Linked DNA regions of Homo sapiens: all the other regions are linked to region 4. The links are contacts of gene promoters, found by promoter capture Hi-C in blood cells and fetal thymus (Javierre and others, 2016). All regions are on one chromosome and are shown on one strand. Each heading gives the region's core, a stretch centred on a gene start or on the middle of the fragment in contact. The rest is flanking DNA. Distances are from core to core; before and after follow the strand shown.

What was found. Contacts are between HindIII fragments. The CHiCAGO score rates a contact against its expected background, and 5 or more counts as called.
Region 1: a fragment that was not itself captured here is called in contact with the fragment with the promoter of FICD in region 4 in 1 of 17 cell types (M2 macrophages); the score reaches 5.0 in M2 macrophages.
Region 2: a contact is called between a fragment that was not itself captured here and the fragment with the promoter of FICD in region 4, in 1 of 17 cell types (neutrophils). The highest score is 6.5, in neutrophils.
Region 3: a contact is called between a fragment that was not itself captured here and the fragment with the promoter of FICD in region 4, in 4 of 17 cell types (neutrophils, fetal thymus, naive CD4 T cells and 1 more). The highest score is 8.6, in neutrophils.
Region 5: a contact is called between a fragment that was not itself captured here and the fragment with the promoter of FICD in region 4, in 1 of 17 cell types (neutrophils). The highest score is 6.2, in neutrophils.
Region 6: a fragment that was not itself captured here is called in contact with the fragment with the promoter of FICD in region 4 in 1 of 17 cell types (M2 macrophages); the score reaches 5.1 in M2 macrophages.
Region 7: a fragment that was not itself captured here is called in contact with the fragment with the promoter of FICD in region 4 in 1 of 17 cell types (neutrophils); the score reaches 7.0 in neutrophils.

What each region holds. Positions count from the first base shown.
Region 1 is chr12:108,087,592-108,090,291 of GRCh38, forward strand. No RefSeq gene overlaps it. Among named protein-coding and RNA genes, the nearest start is that of WSCD2, 40 kb to the right of the region's middle. The HindIII fragment of the contact is 1,884 bases long and covers 340-2,223 here.
Region 2 is chr12:108,936,604-108,939,303 of GRCh38, forward strand. SVOP (SV2 related protein) reads right to left here. Exons shown (of 16, transcript NM_018711.5): 9 at 2,224-2,352; 10 at 661-734. Among named protein-coding and RNA genes, the nearest start is that of DAO, 58 kb to the left of the region's middle. The HindIII fragment of the contact is 4,586 bases long and covers 1-2,700 here.
Region 3 is chr12:108,806,181-108,809,012 of GRCh38, forward strand. SSH1 (slingshot protein phosphatase 1) reads right to left here. Exons shown (of 15, transcript NM_018984.4): 8 at 1,453-1,647; 9 at 121-214. The region is part of intron 1 of LOC101929204 (a long non-coding RNA gene); the gene reads left to right. Among named protein-coding and RNA genes, the nearest start is that of MIR619, 29 kb to the right of the region's middle. RefSeq lists an enhancer at 1-613. The HindIII fragment of the contact is 2,146 bases long and covers 256-2,401 here.
Region 4 is chr12:108,513,859-108,516,558 of GRCh38, forward strand. It overlaps FICD (FIC domain protein adenylyltransferase), which reads left to right and starts at 1,419. Exons shown (of 3, transcript NM_007076.3): 1 at 1,419-1,503. RefSeq lists an enhancer at 891-950. The HindIII fragment of the contact is 9,938 bases long and covers 1-2,700 here.
Region 5 is chr12:108,825,172-108,827,871 of GRCh38, forward strand. All of the region lies in intron 2 of SSH1 (slingshot protein phosphatase 1), which reads right to left. Among named protein-coding and RNA genes, the nearest start is that of MIR619, 10 kb to the right of the region's middle. RefSeq lists an enhancer at 2,489-2,700. The HindIII fragment of the contact is 1,236 bases long and covers 697-1,932 here.
Region 6 is chr12:108,057,159-108,059,938 of GRCh38, forward strand. No RefSeq gene overlaps it. Among named protein-coding and RNA genes, the nearest start is that of WSCD2, 71 kb to the right of the region's middle. The HindIII fragment of the contact is 6,167 bases long and covers 1-2,780 here.
Region 7 is chr12:108,956,882-108,959,581 of GRCh38, forward strand. All of the region lies in intron 6 of SVOP (SV2 related protein), which reads right to left. Among named protein-coding and RNA genes, the nearest start is that of SVOP, 63 kb to the right of the region's middle. The HindIII fragment of the contact is 2,176 bases long and covers 254-2,429 here.

The sequences.
Region 1 (2,700 bases), core at 32-2,531, 430 kb before region 4:
AGGCACCCCTTTTCCTTTTTTAAAAAAAGACATTTAGGCTATGAATGAGCAAACTGCAACATGTAGCATAACAGAGGCCTATTTCTTCATAATCTCAGTGATACTATTTAATAAATATTAGCACTTGAAAACATCATCACCCATTCTGGGAAAGACAAAACTCAAGAGAGAGTAAAATGAGCAGTTGATGCTAGGGATTTAGAGAGAGGGTATAGGGATGAGTAGGTGGAGCAAATGGATTTTTAAGAAAGTAATGAAATTCTGTATCATACTGTAATTGTGAATGCAAGACATTAAGTATTTATCAAAACCCATAGAACTTTCAAGCACAAAGAGTGAAGCTTAATGAATGCAATTTAAAAAAATTATTTAAGGAGCTGGGATCCCAGGAGGGAAAGCAGACTATGACAAAGAATCTAACTGTATGACAAATGCCTGAAGCAACCACATTGAAGGGAGTGTGACGGGAGGTGCTGGCATAACTTTGGAAATAAATGGAGTCTGCAAGACAAAAGGCAGAAGGAACTGTACATAAGGACTGTACTCTAGTTGATAAAGTTGTTTCCCACAGGAATACAGGTTAACAATTCTGACACTGCTATACATGTATACTAGAGTTGAAGAATTAAGTAAATGGATATAAGTTGGTGAAAGTCATGTTTCTCACTGTTGGAGTGGGAGTTTACAGATAAGCCAGGGCAGGAAGCTAGATGATCCATATGGCGATGAATCAGAGCTGGGGACATCAGTATGAACTCAATGTTTAGCTTAATATGGATACAGATGGTTACATACAGAAATATTTATAGATATGTGTATTTACACAGGTTAGTGAGTGTATTCACAGATCATAAGAAAATATGTCAGCTGAGAGGGCCTAGAAGCAAAGACACCCCTGTAGCAAGAAGAACACCTAATGCCCAGATCTTGGTTACTAATACCATTCTCTAATAAAAGGAACCAGAGGTACTTGGAGAAATAGCTGTTTCAATGACTGGGGCAGTAAAAGCACAAGATGAGCCTGGAGCTTTTTATAGTGTCAGATTGCAAGGATGTGCTAAAACAAATGAGTGTATATCAAAGAAGCTCGGAAGCCAAGTGAAAGAGCTTCCAATGGCCAAAGCTGGAAAAATTGGAACAAGATAAATAAATAAAGAATTGAGTTATAACTCAAGGTATAAATCATATATCTCTGAGTGTATACTGATATAAATAAGTGACTGAATAGCTTAATGAATGGGGGAGAAGAGACAAATCTGTCATGCAGCCTAATTCCAAACAATTTACCTAGATGCTCTGCCCTCAAAGAGGGATAGCATAACTCCTCACTCTTTCAGTGTGGGCTGGAGATACCTGACAAAGACTACCTTAGCCAGGTTATCAAGGCCAATACCAATTGTCATAAGTCATGCTGTTAGTATGTACCCTTGATATAATGTGATGAAAATTGCAGTTACCTCTCTGGTCTTACTCCCACAGACCCATAACCTGAGTCAATCCATTAAAAAAAATCAGCTAATAGAGGGACATTCTACAAAATACCTGACCAGTGCTCCTCAAAACTCTCAAGGTAATAAAAAACAAGGAAAGTGCATAACTATCATAGTCAAGAGGAATGTAAGGAGACATGATAACTATATGTAAATGCTACCTGGGTGGGATTCTAGGCTCAAAACAAAGGACATTAGGTAAAACATAAGGATATTTGAATAAAATATAGACTTTAGTTAATAATTTTCTATCAATATTGGTTCATTAGCTGAAACAAATATATCACATTAAGATAAGATGTTACTAATAGGTAAGACTGGGAACTCCAAACTATCTTATTAAATTTTCTGTCAATCTAAAACTGTTCTAAAACATAAAGTCTGTATTTTAAAACATTGCCAATTGGACATAGGTGAAAACTAACACCTTGTTTTTTCTTTATTTGCCTTTCTTTGTTTACTAGTGTGATGAAGCCTTTTTATGTGTGCATGCATTGGCTGCTTATATTTCTTCTTTGAATTGCAAATTTTCATGTATCCCTAAGGTTTTATGGTTATTTATTATGTGGCATTATTGTAGTTCATCTAACCGATACAATCTCATAGAATTATCATAGTCCTATGAAGTATTATTTACCTGTTTTCCATAATTATATAAATATCCATTTTACGGGTAAAGATATGGAGGCTGAAAGAGACTGAATAATTTACCCAGTTCATAGAGTAACACCTAAGCTTTGAACTCACATTGGTCTGACTCCAGAATCCCCTAGGCACCATGTAATACCATGAAGTACCAAGTGATGATGTTGGCAGAGGAAGGGGAGGGAGTCTTGGCAGATAGCTTGGGGTCCAGTGACAACCTTTGAATTCTGGGCTTTAGAATAATGACAGCACCCCAGAGAGGAGCACCACGTAGTCAAACTATATAGGAAGTCTCTGAGTGGCTGATGTGAGAAGTGGCTCCTGAGGGCACCAAATTTCCTGCAGGTCTCTCCAGACTCTGCCGAGAACAGCAAAATGGATTCTCTGGAGTTGTGCCTGGAAGAAATGTAATTGTCAGGGGCCAGAAGGCAGCAGAATTCCATGCCATATATCATCATAATTTAATGTTGAGCCTCTTAAAACTGAAGCCAGGAAGGAGAACCTTCCTTCCCCAGAGTGCGTTAACAGCATCCAGGCTGCAGGGCCCTCCACTCGCCAGTACTTG
Region 2 (2,700 bases), core at 26-2,525, 420 kb after region 4:
TAGCTGGGACCACAGGTGCATGCCTCCACACCCAGCTAATTTAAACATTTTTTGTAGAGACAGGGTTTTACCGTGTTGCCCAGCCTGGTCTCAAACTGCTGGCCTCGAGAGATATTCCCACCTTGACCTTACCAAAGTGTTGGGATTATGGGCATGAGCCACCATGCCCAGCCAGCCTTCTTATCTCTTAAATACAGAGGCTCACTGCCTCTGCAAACCTCCGTCTAGTTACTTTTGCTGATATTTCTCTTTAAGAGTGCCTTCTATCTGTGACTTGCAATTAAGGTGTTTTCTTTTAAAGTAGAGTTATAAGCCTGGTTCAGCGGCTTACAACTGTAATCCCAGAATTTGGGGAGGCTGAGGAGGGAGGATTGCTTGAGTTCAGGAGTTCAAGGCTGCAGTAAGCTAGGAGAGCGCCACTGCACTCCAGCCTGCACGGTGATTAAAAGCAGTCAAGTTAAAGAAAAAGATGAAGGAAATGATAGTACGTACAGATGATAACCTGGATATGACGGAAATCAGGAGGATGATGTTCGAACTACTGAAATTTGCAAACGCTGCCTGAAATCAAAGTGCTATCTGTCCATTGCATTAAAACAAAACCCAAAACAGGGCACAGGGAGTGGAAAGGGGTCAAAGTGGTCAACAAACAGCTCTTACCATATAAACCACAGCAGCAAAGTTGTCCATCTAAAATGGGGTGTGAAAAGGTCCCTCATTTTGCCTCGGTCTTCCTGTTTCAAAACAAGGACATAGTGTTTATTCTCTCCCCTACAGATGCACGGGAGATGGGCTGGTGGCCTGAGACTAGTGCACACCAGGCTGGGAGGAAGGTTTCTAGTAAGTAGGACACTGGAGCTCTGAGAACCCAGGTCTCAAATCTACAGGACGCAGCCTCCCAGCCCCTCCAGCCAGAACCCAGCCATGTCCAGGGGCATGATCCCCACAGGATGGATCTCACGCCCTCCAACCTGGAAACCTGGACTTGGGAAGCAGATCCCTCCTTCCTGGCCCCTCAGACCTCAGCACAGATCCAAGGACACAGCAAGCAGAAAACCAGTCCAAAGCATGTCCAGCCATTTCACACACACACATGTGCCTTCCCCAGTTCTAGGTCTAGGTGGCAACAGTTAATGTGCTGAGAAACTAATTCACCAAAGGCCAATTTACCAAAAGATTGATTAGCTAAATGACCGATTGGCCAATTTTACATAATTCACAAATTTATCAAACTTTGCTTTACGATGTTCTTTAAAAAATATATGCTATGGCCAGGTGTGGTGGTTCGTGCCTGTAATCCCAGCACTTTGGGAGGCCGGGGCAGGTTGATCACTTGAAGCCAGGAGTTCGAGACCAGCCTGGCTTTCCCTCATCCATGGAAGGGATCTCTCCCCAAAGGCAACCAAATAGGCTTCTGCACCTCTTGAGGAATCCATCCTGCTCTGCCCCTGTAGATTTGGGGCAGGTCCCCTGGACTCTATGTTGTCAGACCAAACACCTCCTTCCAACTTGGTGAAATGCCATTCAGTTCTTCTTGCATAATATAAAAAGAATCAGAAATATAACTTTATTTTAAAAGGTAATTTCTTTATAGGATCTGATGTCTGCTTAAGGTATTTGTCATGTTTCTTCAATCGGCTTGGATGGTTCTTGAGGGCAGGGACTGCAGCCTTAAATCCGAATCTTTTCTCCCCATGTGTGCAATGCTGGTGCCTACATATACTAGGTGCTCATTAAGTTTCACCGTGGTGGACTCCCTGATGGTGTTACCAGCGGAGTGAGGCACCATTCATTAAGAACACCTACACAGGGTGCGGTTTGATCCCCTAGATCTAAGCACACTCCTTCCTGATATGGTTTTATTGCACAGCTTTTGCCAATCAGTCTCATTCGCTAGTCAGACTTCATCTGTGCTGAAAGGCGAAACCAAAGCAGGAGCAGTTACAGGACCCATTAGCAGAGGTTACTTTTCTCTAATCACTGGTGAAATTCTCCAGGAAGCATTTTTAGAACTTGGAAGTGAAAATACAGATTGGAGTTGCCAAATTACCCTTGCAGGTCCTGTCTACTGGGCCCTCATCTGCTCCATGTGCACGCACACACCCCACCTTGGGTACACATACCCACATGTGTCCTCGCATGCATGCCCTACTCCATATGCACACACTCCCCTGCATGCACCCCGATACGCACATTGCAGAGTCTATTGGTCCAGGCACTGACCTGTCTGGAGATGATGAGTTTCCCCAGCGGCATGGGAGCTCCGTTTTCAGTTGCTATCCTCTTTAAGGTGGCGATTGCCTTTTCCTGGTTCCCTGACAGCACATCATACCTTGCACTTTCAGGCAGCCACTGGGATGGGGGAGACAGGAAACCCAGGCGTGGCTGGTTAGGGTGGAACAGAGCACTCGCTTCTAGCCACACAGTGTTGCATGTGGGGTCTTTAAGAGTGGGGGCTCTGGAGCCAGAGAGCTGACTTCAAATCCTGGCCCCACCATTTATTATGTTGGTTGTGTGACCCTGTACAATTACTTGACTTCTCTGTGCTTTCATTTCCTTCTCCATAAAATGTGAATGATAAGAGATCCTACCTCTTAGGGCTCTTAAGAGGATTAAACAGGATAATACAGGCAAGGTGCCTAGTGCAGTGCCTGGTATGGGTTAATGCAGTTATTATTATTGTCACGGTTGCTATTACTA
Region 3 (2,832 bases), core at 79-2,578, 290 kb after region 4:
GATACCAGAGGACAGGTAAAGACAACCAGATGTTGGGCCTGCTTTTGCTGCACTTTCGGGAGCAGGACACATGGAGGCTGCATGACCTCTGACCTGCAATGAAGGGAGGAGTTGTCTTACCTCTTTGGAAGTCACATTTTCTAGATCCTGGCTCATCATGATGCTTCGGAGCTTGGCTTTGATGAGGCGCTCGGTCCTTTCCCCTTCAGTGGGCCTGGAAAGAAATGACGTTTAGGAGAGCAAGGAGCTGTAGAAAGCTTGTGGTCGGAGGTTACAGGAATGCCAGATGCTCCTGGGTCTAAACAGAACACGGCTTGGCAAGGAGAGCACGCTTCTTGGTGTGCATGTTCTCAGGCAGCAGGGAGAGGTGCACAGAAAACCCGCTGCAGCTCTAGAACTCCCACGGGAGTCAACAGAGCAGGGAGCAGGTCAAGCGGGGAGAGGACAGTGTGGAAACTCCTTGCTCAGACGCTCTTAGGGCAGGATGCTGGGATGCCCAGCGCAACATCCCCAGGCCCCTGGGCCCTTGAGTCTCTGCTCGAACACGTGTGGGCATGAGGACCTCACTGTCTGAGGCAGCCCGGCCCAGCTGCAGCAGATCCCATTATCCCCTTTTTCCTCAGAATCAAAATCTGGGTATTTCCCTGCTCTGGTTTTAACTCTAGGGGACACACAGACCAGGATAATCCTTCTTCCCCATGAGGAATCTTCAAATATTCAAAGGCAACTACCCTTCCTCCGTGATTTCAAGGCCCTCTCCTAATGTGGCTTCCCATCCCTCAGGTCTCTGCCCTCTGAACACACTGTGGTTTATCCATAGTCTTCCCAAAATGCAGTGTCCTGGAGGAACACCACACTGTGGGAGCAGGGTCCTGACCCCGAGGGGAGGGGCGACCAGCATTCTCCCTAACTAGACTTCAGCGAGTGTGGCCTCTCCATGTCAGCGCTGTCGTAGGTCACACGACACAGGTCATGTGGTTCACCATGGCTGCTGCTAAGGCAGGCTGCCCTCACCAGTTGTGTTTTTGGATCCAAGGAAGCAGAGGACACATTCCTAACTCTCCTCAGAGCAGAGCGGGAGGCTCTGAGAATTAAGTCTCTGGTAATCTGAAGAGAAAAGGCCAGACCACAGAGCTCTGGAAGGAGTTGGGGACACAAAGGGCCACACATTCCTTTGAGAGTCTGATGGGAGTTACGGACCCCGTCCCCAGAAATGCATTCACCAAATTCATCAGTAATTTTTTTTTTTTTTTTCTTTTTTTTGCATGGGACAGGGGCCTGTGTCACAGACCCCTGCTTTAAACGCTGGTTCTGAGAAAGCTAGGGTTCTCACTCAAGGGACTCCAGGGGAGGTGTGGCCCAATGCAGGTTCAGGGTCGGGCACAGGGCAGGTGGGGGAGAGGCAGGTGCCTGTGGGCTTGGGTGCGCTCACACCAGAGGCACCTCACTTACTTGTCCACAAATAGCGCGGGGGAGTCGGGCCGCGTAGACTCCAGGTCCTGCATGGCGTTCCACTCGTTGATGCAGCTCTGCTCGGAGCTGATGCAGCTCTCATAGTAGGTAGCCCAGATGAGAGCTACACCCCCGGGGAAGTAGTTGTGCCTCCGGGCCACTTCGCAGGCCTTGTGAAGCACCTGCAGGGCAGACCTGGGGCGAGGAGAAGACAGGGTCAGGCCTGGGAAGGCACAAGAGATGCAGGGTTTTCTCCTCTGACAAAGGGGTTCAAATACGGGAAGGGAAGGGCAATGATTGATTGGTTGATTATTTCTTTTTGGGACAGAGTCTCGCTCTGTCACTCCCAGGCTAGAGTGCAGTGGCACGTTCTCGGCCCAATGCAATCTCCGCCTCCTGGGTTCAAGCAATTCTCCTGCATCAGCCTCCCGAGCAGCTGGGACCACAGGCGCCCACCACCACGCCCAGCTAATTTTTCTATTTTTAGGAGAGACAGGGTTTCACAATGTTGGACAGGCTGGTCTTGAATTCCTAGCCTCAAGTGATCTGCCCGCCTCGGCCTCCCAAAGTACTGGGATTATAGGCGTGAGCCACCATGCCCGGCTGAGAAGTGCAGTTTGTAAAGGGCTCACTCTTGGAGTCACACTTACACATACAGGCGGCTGGGGAATGCATATAGCCTGAAACATTCAGCCCGCCAGGACACGGAGCTAGTCCTTGGGACATATTCACTGATTGAATCTAAGAGTGGCCAGAACACCCCACATTATTTCCAAAGAGCAGCAGAAACAAACAACAACAAACTACTTCATAACTCTTCCAATCAGGTGGTTCACGGGTTATTTTACAACCCATCAATTAACTCCAGAGAATTAAGAACTGCTCCTGAAGCGTGGTAACCCTGAACATATGTTCATATGACCCACATTGAACCTAAGACCCACAATTAAGCTTAGCAGCTGGAAGAAAAAGTCTTTAATATGCAACAGAGACATCTGCCTGCATTCTAAATAATTACATTTCCACCCATCCCCCCATCAACATTCTAATAGCTTAGATGCTTAGATTTCTTAAGAAAACAAGTTCTAGAAAGTCATTTTAATATAGAAACTAACTGAAGAGGTTTGGGGAGCAGACTGGGAAACAATATTAAGAATCTATGTTTTATTTAGTCACCCTCTTTTACTTCTTTTTTTTTTTTTTTTTTTTTTTTTTGTTTGAGAGAGAGTCTCACTCCATCGCCCGGGCTGGAGTGCAGGGGCGTGATCTCGGTTCACGGCAACCTCCATGTCCTGGGTTCAACTAATTCTCTTGCCTCAGCCTCCTGAGTAGCTGGGACTACAGGTGTGTACCGTCACACCTGGCTATTTTTTGTATTTT
Region 4 (2,700 bases), core at 169-2,668:
AAAGTCTGAATTTGAGCTCAGGTCTCTTTGACTCCCCAGAATCTGAACTGCTAACTTCTAAATGCTTAGCGTTTCTGGGGCACCTCCCTAGATGTTTAATTTCAGTATTTGTGGATTAAGATGGAGGTTTCCATTCTCTGCTTCAAGGAAAAAATTTCTCTCTGGGAAGCCAAAAGAACTAGCCAGGTCCTTCTGGAGAGGATACAAATTAAAAAGTCAGGGAGAACCGAGGGGGTGGCTTGCGCCTGTAATCTTAGCGCTTTGGGAAGCCGAGATGGAGGGAGAGCTTAAGGTCAAGAGTTCGAGACCAGCCCGGGCGACATAGTGAGACCCGGTCTCTAAAGAAAATAAAAAATCAGAAATAGGTCGGGCGCGATGGCTCACGCCTGTAATCCCAGCACTTTGGGAGGCCGAGGCAGGCGAATCTTCTGAGGTCAGGAGTTCGAGACCAGCCTGGCCAACGTGGTGAAACCCCATCTCTACTAAAAATACACAAATTAGGCGGGCGTGGTGATGCGCGCCTGTAATCCCAGCTACTCGGGAGGCTGAGGCAGGAGAATCGCTTCAACCTGGGAGGCGGAGGTTGCAGTGGGCCAAGATCGTGCCACTTCCCTCCAGCCTGGGCAACAGAGTGCGATTCCGTCTCAAAAAAAAAGAAAGAAAGCAAGACAGAGAGAGAGAAAAAAAAAGAAAGAAAGAAAGAAAAGAAAAGAAAAGAAAATTCGCCGGGCATGGTGGCATGCACCTGTAGTCCCAGCTACTCGGGAGGCTGAGATGGGAGGATTGCTTGAGCCCAGGAGGTGGAGGCTGCAGTGAGCTGCAATTGCTCCACCGCACTCCAGCCTGGGCGACACAACGAGACCCTGTATTTTATAAGAAAAAAAAAAGTTGTTTAAGTCAGGGAGGAAAAGACACAGAGAGGAAAAGAGTAAAGAAGAAGAAGGCGGCAAACTCAGCAGCATGGGGTGGAGGCTAAGAACAGGGGCTGCGCAGTCAAGCAGGCTAACCGGGTGAAGGGGTGAAAAGCATCAGCATCTTCATTTCACAACCGGGAAAAATGAGGCACACGACAGCGGCTCCGGGACGAAGAGACCCGAGGAAAAGACCGCCGTGGAACTTCCAGTTTCCGGGCCCGCCACCTAGTGTGCCCCAAATCCGCACGCCCATCGGGTTTCCAGCACCTGCTCCTCCTGCCTGTGGCCTAGGCCCCGCCCCTCCCGCTGCTTATTGGCTGCTACGTGAACGAGACAAACGCAAGCAACAACCAATGGGAGTGGCCCACGGCGCGTCTTTCCCGGGGAAGCCGACGCGGACGCGGGAACCCGGAAATGCGAGGGAAGGACAAGTGGGGAAAGCCAATCCGCCGCGACGAGGGCTGCGGGCGGTTCAATGGCAAGTCGCCGGGGGCGGGGCCAGAGGCCGGCGGAGAAGGAGGACCCGGGAGCCGGCGGCCCGGAGCTGGGAGCGCGGGGAAGGCGGTTGGGGTTCTGACAGCTGCGCGCGGTGAGAAGGGGAAAAGCCCTAGGGGCTCGAGAGGATGAAGCCGGGAAGGGTGCGACGGGGCCGCGAGCCCTGGGCGGGGTTCGGGAAGGGAGGCTCTGCAGTCTTGGAGGGGACTCAGACCGGTCCCCTCCCCTCTCCGGGCCTCAGTTCTCCCTTTCTAGGGAAGTGTGGGGGAGAGATTCGCGCCTCCCAGAACGCACTCCTTCCCTGCACACACCCCTGGCACCGGCGAACTGCCCCCTTTCCTGTACCGCCCCGCCCAGGAGCCTGTCCCCTCGGGAAGCCCGCCCAGACCCCTGGACCCGCGCAGCACTCCAGGCGCACCCCTATTAAAGCGCACCCCAAGCCATTTCACATGTTCTGTGGCAATGGGCCAGGATCCCCATGAGACTCAGAACCCCGTGATCCATCAGTCATTCCCGGGTCAGGACCAGCCCAGAGCAGGTGCACAGGCCCTGCTTAGTAATAAGGTAGAAATCGAGACCTGGGGACCGGGTTCAGAGGCCCTGGGGTTTCCTTCCGGATGCCTCTGTTTACCTCCTGTGGGCCTTCTGGAATTTAACTTATGCTCTCTGTGTCTTGGTTTCCCTTGTCTGTAAAATGGAGCTAGCGGTAGCTCTTCCTTCATAGGGTGGCATGAGGGTGAAACGAGGCAATGCGTGGCCAGTACACTGCTCAGCACCTAGGACACCATAGTTGCTTAATAAGTGCTTATTGTTAGCATAGTGTTTGCATGCCTGGCCCCACCTCCACTCCCACTGCCAGCCCCAAGCACATACAAGCCATGTTGTCACTGAGGCCAAGCACTGTGGCCCACAGCCTGAGTTCCTTTCGAGATGCTCGAACTGCTCATCTTCTTGATGGGGTCCCTTCTGGACAGGCCAGAAATGGAAGGCCAGAGAGGGGAAGGGCACTGTGGGAGCTGTGGCTGAATATCAGGGTGAGGGCAATAAATGAGGCCACCCAACAATTGTGCTTATCAAAGATTGGGCGTCAGAACTGCTGTGGCTGATCTGCCTGGGTGTCTGTCAGTCATTTATGTCCCAAATGTTTGACATATGTCCACAAATCCAGTGTTTGTGGTCAGAAGCCACAGGGATATATGGGAAGGGGGGACACTTTAGAGCCGTGGGGTTCCTGAGTTCAAGTCCTAAGGCTGTCACTTGCTCCCGGCGAGACTTTCGGCAAGGGACTTCA
Region 5 (2,700 bases), core at 65-2,564, 310 kb after region 4:
GATTTGAAGGAAAAATCCCTAAGAAAAAGCAGTCTTCTAATTAAAGAGAACCTTGAAATTAAGTAAATCAATTCCTGACAGAAAGACGAAGATGTTTTCTGTAATACAAGAAAGCAAGATCACCTTTGCCCCAGACATCTAATGTTAGTAGTTAAACGTTCGAATTCTGGAATAAAAAACTCAGCAAAGTCTAAAGTATGACTCTGGGTGCCAAGAAAATGCCACAGGAACTAGCATTTCCAATCAGCAGCTCCTGAGATCAGGAAGACTGTTATGTTCTATGATATAAAGTCCACAATAAAATCTGTTAGTTTTTCTGGTTAAATGCTCATGCTAAAAATAGTGACTGCTCAAATATTAAGTAAGAAGACTTAGTTTTGCCTTCTTGTTCAGTCCTCTGAATTCCAGGCAATTGGTTTTCGATATCTTGTGACACCAATACTTGACATCTAACAGCATTTTGTCCACTACTGCAGATGCACTGCCGAGTCATCCTTTCCACCCTCTCACAGGCATATATTTGTGCTGCAAGGTTCAAGTGTTGAGGAGCTCAGGATTATAAATAACGAAAGAAACGAGAAGCAGCCTTTCTTTGCTGTCTCACCCTCACTCATAGGAAGTAAAAAGCTCTTTAGCATCCATCTGGCCGATCTCATTTCACAGGCTGCAGAATCACCTAACCCTTTCCACCTGCAAAGCTTGTCACTCTCTCCTTCCTTAGAATCTCACAGCTGAGTATGTTTTCAGAACTGTTCTTAGACACAGATCATTTACTATTTATTCTCATCAAAATCTGAAACAGCTATGCGAGAGGTTCCAAACTCATGAAACCTAAAACAACCATCAGTTCATCGAAGCAGCTGGGAAAATCTTTTCGAGACAACATCAACTGCTTTTGTTCATGAGATTAAAAAAAAAAAATTCATACTGACCAGAAACCCAAGCACGCTGGAAACAGCCAACCATTAACGATGACCTTTGCCTTGGAAACCATGAGCAAAAATTCCCCTTGGTTTCCCTTATATTTCCTTTGGAAAAAAAAAGGAACAATGCAACAGACTAGGCTGGTTTCACTCTGTGATCACTTACAAGGCCAGCTGTTCCTCCTCCATGTTCCTACACTGATAAGAATCAGGGACTCCTGCTCTACGCATGAAGTCAGGATGGCATTGATTGGGGCCCTGGAACACTCTGCCTCTGTTCCCCCACGACAATCAAGTAACAGGCATTTACTGTAAAAAGCAAGACTGGAAGCTGCAGGGAAGCCCAAGTAGCAGCGCATTATCCCGAAGCTGTGAGATCACCCTGCGTCCTGCAAATACAGTCAGGAGATACAGCCAGAGGAAACCGCACGACATGACTCTCCGGGTGGGGGGTGGGGTGGGAGGCCGCAGAGCATGGTCAGTCACAGGATTTATGAAAACAAGATGCAGAAAGTCTCTGTGACCCGGCTTCCTGGCTTCTCTTCTGAGCTCACTCTGGGCCCAGAGCCTCATGCGCCCTCTGCGTGGCTGACCTGAATACTGTATCTGACGACTGCAGCTTCTGATGCCCAGAGGCACAGGCTCCCGATTCATCAGACCCTCAAAGTGTCCCACTGGGGAAGTCCATGAAGAAATCCACATTGGTGATGGCACGCTCACTTTACCAGGTGTCTGGGGCCAGGAAGCCCAAACCCACAAGCCATCCATCCCAGCCACCCAGAAGTCACTCTTCTCACAAAAGATCTGAGTGTCCTAAAAGGAGTGACTAAAGTTACAAAAGGTCAGACGCAGACAGACAAAACGGAAATGTCTTCCTCCACCGCTGTAAGAAAAATCTTGATGAGGGATAAAAAAAAAAAAAGCCGCTGCCCTCTCTACCCGCCAACTGGAATGTTTTTATCTCCACCACACAGATCTGTTCTCGGACACTGATTACTGCCATTCGGGAAGCTTCATAAGATTAAAGTTTCTCCAAAGCATTGAAGACAGACAAAAAACCTCAATCAATGCTCCTCAAAAAACCCCAGGCCCCCAAAATATAAACAGCCAGTGTCATCCAGAAACCAAGCCATGGCAGGAAACCAGTAATCAGGGTGGTCATACGTACTAATTTGAGCTGGAAACCTCTGGACAGCAGAAGCAGTGGGTTGGCTGAAGGAAGATGCAGAAGTCGGTAAAATAAAAGAGGTTCGTGGCTGCAGTGCTCACATCTCTAACGCTCCCTACAACTGCCCTCCGAGCTCTGGCCATCTGCTCCCTATGGAGATCAGGAAAAGCCAGGAGGCTGCCGAGTGCTTCCACGAGGGCTGGGGAGCCAACTCCTCCTCAGAGTCCTACCCGAAAAGCAAATGGCTCTTGTGGAACTCTTGTCTTCCTCTGATATTTTGGCTGAAAAAGGCCCTTGTCCCAGCACATCCTGATGAAAGAGGGCCATTCAGCAAAACAGCTGAGGTTCCTCTAATCACTGCACTCCTACGGGCTTTTCTGTAGGCCGGAGAAACAAGCACCGGGGTGTGCATTCGACATTGTGAGGGCAAACAACTGGCCCCAAGGAACCAACCCCAAGCAACAAGACCCCCTTCCGATTCAAATCAACATTCTGAAGGATGACTCTTTCTTTCAAATCAGCATCCATTTACCCAACGGTGACGGTGACGTGGGCAGCTGCCGCAGTTAGTTATTCTGCGTACTCAAAGCACGGTTACATCCTGAAAAT
Region 6 (2,780 bases), core at 168-2,667, 460 kb before region 4:
ATGATCTCTTTAAAGGCCCTATCTTCAAATACAGCAATATTCCGAGGTCCTAGGGGTCAGGACTTCAACATGTGAATGGGTTATGGTGCAGGCGGAACAATTTAGCCCATTATAGACCCTTCTCTTTTTCCCCACAGCCCTCACGCCACATGTTCCTCTAGCTCGGAAACCCTTTATCATAATGTCCTGTGCACTTATCTTTCTCCCTAACTAGACTACACCTGTGAAGGCAAGGACCCTTTCCACTGCTGCATCCCCACAGTGACTAGAACCCTGCCCGGCACACCGTTAAGTACTCAACAGCTATCTGTAAAGCACATGCATGTAGTTGCCATCCTGGTTATCCTTAGAATCAAGTGAGGGGCAAAAGAAGAAGGACCTGTATACTCAGCTTGAGGCTGACTGTAGCTGGAAGACAGAGGTGAGATAATGTTGCATGGCCACACCACCATGCCCAGTTTCCCCTTTGGGACATTATCCCGTGGGTTTTTCTTTCTTGAGCTGCTCTCCCTATCCTCCTCATTCTGATATCTCACCCAGCTAGACCAGTGTGGTGAATATATCCAGCAGCACCCAACAGCCCTGCAAACCGACAGGCTTTCTTTGACCATAACCATCTCAGACAGATCAATGTGAATCCCTTCCTTAGCAGTTGCAAGGAAAGAGCAGTTAATCTTGCCCAGGGTGGGCCACCCTGCTTTAAAGGAATGAGTGGAGGTAGAGGTGCCTATATTGTTTCATGTCTAACTTCGACAAATCAAGTGAATTTTTTTTTTTTTGATAGAGTCTCGCTCTGTTGCCTAGGCTGGAGTGCAGTGGTGCGATCTTGGCTCACTGCAAGCTCCGCCTCCTGGGTTCACACCATTCTCCTGCCTCAGCCTCCCGAGTAGCTGGGATTACAGATGCCCACCACCACACCTGGCTAATTTTTTTTTTTTTTTTTTTTGTATTTTTAGTAGAGACGGGGTTTCACCATGTCAGCCAGGATGGTCTCGATCTCCTAACCTCCTAACCCAAGGCCTGTCTTGGCCTCCCAGAGTGCTGGATTACAGGTATGAGCCACCGCGCCCAGCCTCAAGTGGTATTCTTAATGACTTAGTGTGAATGTTTCAGAGATGACTTCTTTTTTCTCATTGATCCTTTCACCAGCTGCCATCATCCTTTAATTATAAGTCTCCACTTCCTTCCATCCTCTCTGACAAATAGATAATAATGATCTGTAAACAAACACATACGTGCACCAGGGGAGCAACTCTTGATAATAATTCTGCATAGCAGGAGGCAGGCAGGTAAGCAAAGCACGAAGTCACTCAGACTTCAGTTAGGATCATGGTTTTGCCATGCCATCTGATAGAGCGTTCTGTGCAGATGGAAATGTAGTATACCTGTGCTGTACAATAAGGTAGCCAGTAGCCACATGTGGCTGTTGAACACTTGACGTGTGGTTAGTGTGATTGAAGTACTGGATTTTAATTTAATTTAATTTTAATTAATTTAAGTAGCTACATGTGGGTAAAGTGGCTACTCTGCTGAAAAGTGCAGCTTAGAGACCAGTCATGTCACATCTCTGAGCCTCTTCTTTCTCCCCTGTAAAATGGAGATTAAAATCTCTATTGCATTAGGATAATACTAGTTGCTATTACAAACAGGCTATGTGGCATTAGAGGCTCCAACAAGTCGGAAGTTTGTTTCTCGCCCATGTAACAGTCTAGGGCATGCCCCCTCCAAAGAATATTCAGGGATTCAGGCTGATGGGGTTTGCTATCTCCAACACACAGACATTTTAGTTATTCCCATCTAGTCACCAGGAAAGGGAAAATAGCAGAATTCCAAAGCTAGGGGTTTTCTCTTAAGCAATTGAGGTAGAATTTGTAATGTCATTTCCGCTCTGCCAATTCTTGGCAAGAAAACACTCACATTACCACACGTAACAGCAAGGGGAGCTCAGAAATTTAGTCCTTAGCTGCGTCACAGTGTCCTAACTAGAATTATCTTAGTGTAGAATAAGGAAAGAACATATTTTGGAAGACAGATAACTGTATCTATTACACCTACTTTGGAGGATTGCTGTATGGGTTAAATATGTTACGTATGTGACACGGTACTTGTGTAATAGTCAGCTTTTGCTGTTAATAAGAAAACAACTCTACCGTTTCGTGTCTTAAGCCAACAATGCTGAGTGAGAGTTAGCAATTTGGGCTGTGTTCATGTAAGCAGTTCTAGACTCAGTTGATCTCAGTGTGGCTTCCATCAGTGCTGCTTCCATCAGTGCTGGGTCAGCTGGGGCTGGCTGATCTAGGATGGCCCTGGCTGGACCATCTTTCCTTGCTCTATTTAATTTTTATCCTCCAGCTGGCAAGTGACGGGGTCCAAGACAGTGAGGGAACACTCACAGGGCCTTTTGAGGTTTAGGATTGGAAATGACACCCAATCACTGCTGTCACATCCTATCAACTAAAACAAGTTACAAAGCCAATCAAGAATCAGGGGCAGGAAAACAGACTCCATCTTTTAATGGGAGGGGATGCAAAATCACATTGCAAAGGAGTGTAGTTATAGGGAGGGGAATAATTAGAGCCATTTTTGAAACAGTCTACTATAATTTGGTATACAATTTATTCAGTAAATGATGCCTAATGTTATTTTATTAATTCACTTATTAATTCTATATGGTCCCCTCATTCAAAAATTTATTGAATGTTTACTATGCATCAGGCTTTAGGCCAAAGACAGTGACTGCATTTGGATGTGTTAGGCATTGAACTCTGTAAGAAGAAGTC
Region 7 (2,700 bases), core at 92-2,591, 440 kb after region 4:
GGTGTCAGCTTGGAGACGATGCCCTGTGACCATGGGGCACTGTCCTCCAGGACACAATACCCACTTAAGTCTATTGCCATTATGATGCTTCATTCCCAGGAGAAAAGATTCATGGGTCTGGAAATTAAGGGGTTGAAGTAAGAGTAGGCTTCACTGTCATCAGTCTCAGTGACCCAGATCAGGGGATTTGTACTTCACATCCTGCAACTTCTGGGCTCGGTGGGTCTAGAGGTCCTGGCTCCCAGGGAGGGAAAGCTTCCACAGGAGACACAGCAAGAGTCTCAGTAGAATGTCTTTTTTGAGATGGAGTCTTGCTCTGTCGCCGAGGCTGGATAGCAGTGGCGCGCTCTCAGCTCACTGCAAACTCCGCCTCCTGGGTTCAAGGGATTCTCCTGCCTCAGCCTCCCAAGTAGCTGGGATTACAGGTGTGTGTCACCACACCCAGCTAATTTTTGTAATTTTAGTAGAGACGGGATTTCACTGTGTCGGCCAGGATGGTCTCGAACTCCTGTCCTCACATGATCCACCTGCCTTGGCCTCCCAAAGTGCTGGGATTACAGACGTGAGCCACCGTGCCCGGACCCATTAGACTTTAAGCAACAGCTGCTACCCAGTAACTTTGGGCTCCTTTGTGTCAAGAAATGAACAGGCAAGAAAAAGAGTCACCGTGGGCTCCTTGGGTCCCATGTCAGAGAAATTGATCCTAACCACCATTAAGACTTAATAAGCCCCATCTATCATAGGGCCACCCAGGTGATATACCAGACATCTCTTGGTAATCTCCTGCTCAATTTTGGTGTTAAATGGACAAGCGCAGCAGCTATGGCCTAAAAGAGGCATGGCGACCAGGGACTCGAATCCCTTAGGCATGAGATCTCAGTCACCCACCCAGGTAAACCGTCTAGATCAGCGAGAGTGCTCGCTGAAGCTGAGAGGAATTTAGAATGGGAAGCAGAGGTGGGAGACATTTGGCCTTTTGGCCAAGGCAACTTCTGCAAGGAACTCAACTGTGAGCTCCATTGGCATCCATTGCAGCCGTGAGACTTTTGCAGAAAAGAGATTATCCAGAATCCTGGAGGAACTGTTCTTAGGCGGGGTGAGCTGATTACAATTATGGGCTGCATAACACATTTGAGTCAACAACAGACCACATATATGATGGTGGTCCCATAAGATTATAATACTGTGGTAATTAATTAACTTATTTATTTTGCAATCTTTTATTGAAGAGTACTGCTTCGTGCAGAGCAGGGCTAACTCATAGGCAGTGCACCCAGAGTTGGCCTATTTTCATTATTCTTTAATAGCGAGGGGGTCTAGCTATGTTGCCCAGGCTGATCTCAGACTCCTGGGCTCAAGGGATCCTCCTGCCTCAGCCTCCCAAAGTGCTGAGATTACAGGTGTAAGGTACCATGCCTGGCCTTTTTTTTTTTTTAATTTAATACTGTGTTTCTACTGTAGGTTTTCTATGTCTAAATGTGTTTAGAGATGCAAATACCATTGTGTTCGAATTGTCTGCAGTATTTAGCACAGCTACATGCTGTACGGGTGTGTAGCCCTGGAGCAATAGGCTATACCGTATAGCCTAGCTGTGTAGGAGGTTGTCCCATCTAGCTTTGTGTGAGGACAGTTTATGATGTTTGCACGGTGACAAAATCACCTATTGATGCATTTTTGGAACACATCCCCATCATTAAGTGACGCATGACTATATTTGAAGCAAGTGGGTCCACCCTGGACTGTGGAGGATGCTGTGATGTGCTACTTGGTCTGCCCTTCAGGACTGAGGCTTTTATTCCCTCCAAAATGAGCAGGAGCATTGCCTGCCAGGAGCTGAGTCCCTTGCAGAAGTTGCCTTGGCCAAAAGTAGCTGCCTTGCCTAAGATCATGCTCCATCCTTGAGGGCAGCCCACATCCGATGCCTGGTTGGTGTGAGGGTAAAAAGGCCTAGCCCCCCCGCCCCAATCTGAAACACCTCTGAAGGGCCACCTCTGCTTCTGAAACCCTGTAAGCTGACCAGAGGCCTCTGTGGCAATGGTATGGCAACTCAGCTTCCCCCTTCGCTGGTCCTAATTTTCTCACTTTCTTACAGGTGTTAATCCTAGTAACCACCTGCACAGTAATCTCCATCTCAAAGTCTATTCCCCAGGATCCCATCCTAGAACAGGGACCATGGTGCTCTTGCTCAATGCTGCGTCCTGGCACCTAGCATTTCTAGGTACTCAAGAAATATTGGTGGAATAAATGAATACACTACAAGGGATCGCCCTGGTCCTCTTGCAAAATTTTCCTAATGATTCCTTACCTCCAAGCTGTTCTACCTGCCATAGCCAGATCCATACTTCTAGGTACCTCCGCTGCTCAAGAACTCTCAGTGGCTCCTCATCACCAATAGAATCCCTTTGGCCTGGCATTTTAGGCCTTTAACAAGCTTGCCCTGGCCTACCTGTCCAACCTCAGCTTTTAATTCTTTTTTTTTTTTTTTTTTTTGAGTCAGAGTCTCACTCTGTCATTCAGGCTGGAGTGCAGCAGTACGATCTTGGCTCACTGCAACCTCTGCCTCCCAGGTTCAAGCGATTCTCCTGCCTTAGCCTCCCAAGTATCTGGGACTACAGGTGCCCGCCACCAAGCCCGGAAAATTTTTGTATTTTTAGTAGAGATGGGGTTTCACCATGTTGGTCAGGCTGGTCTCAAACTCCT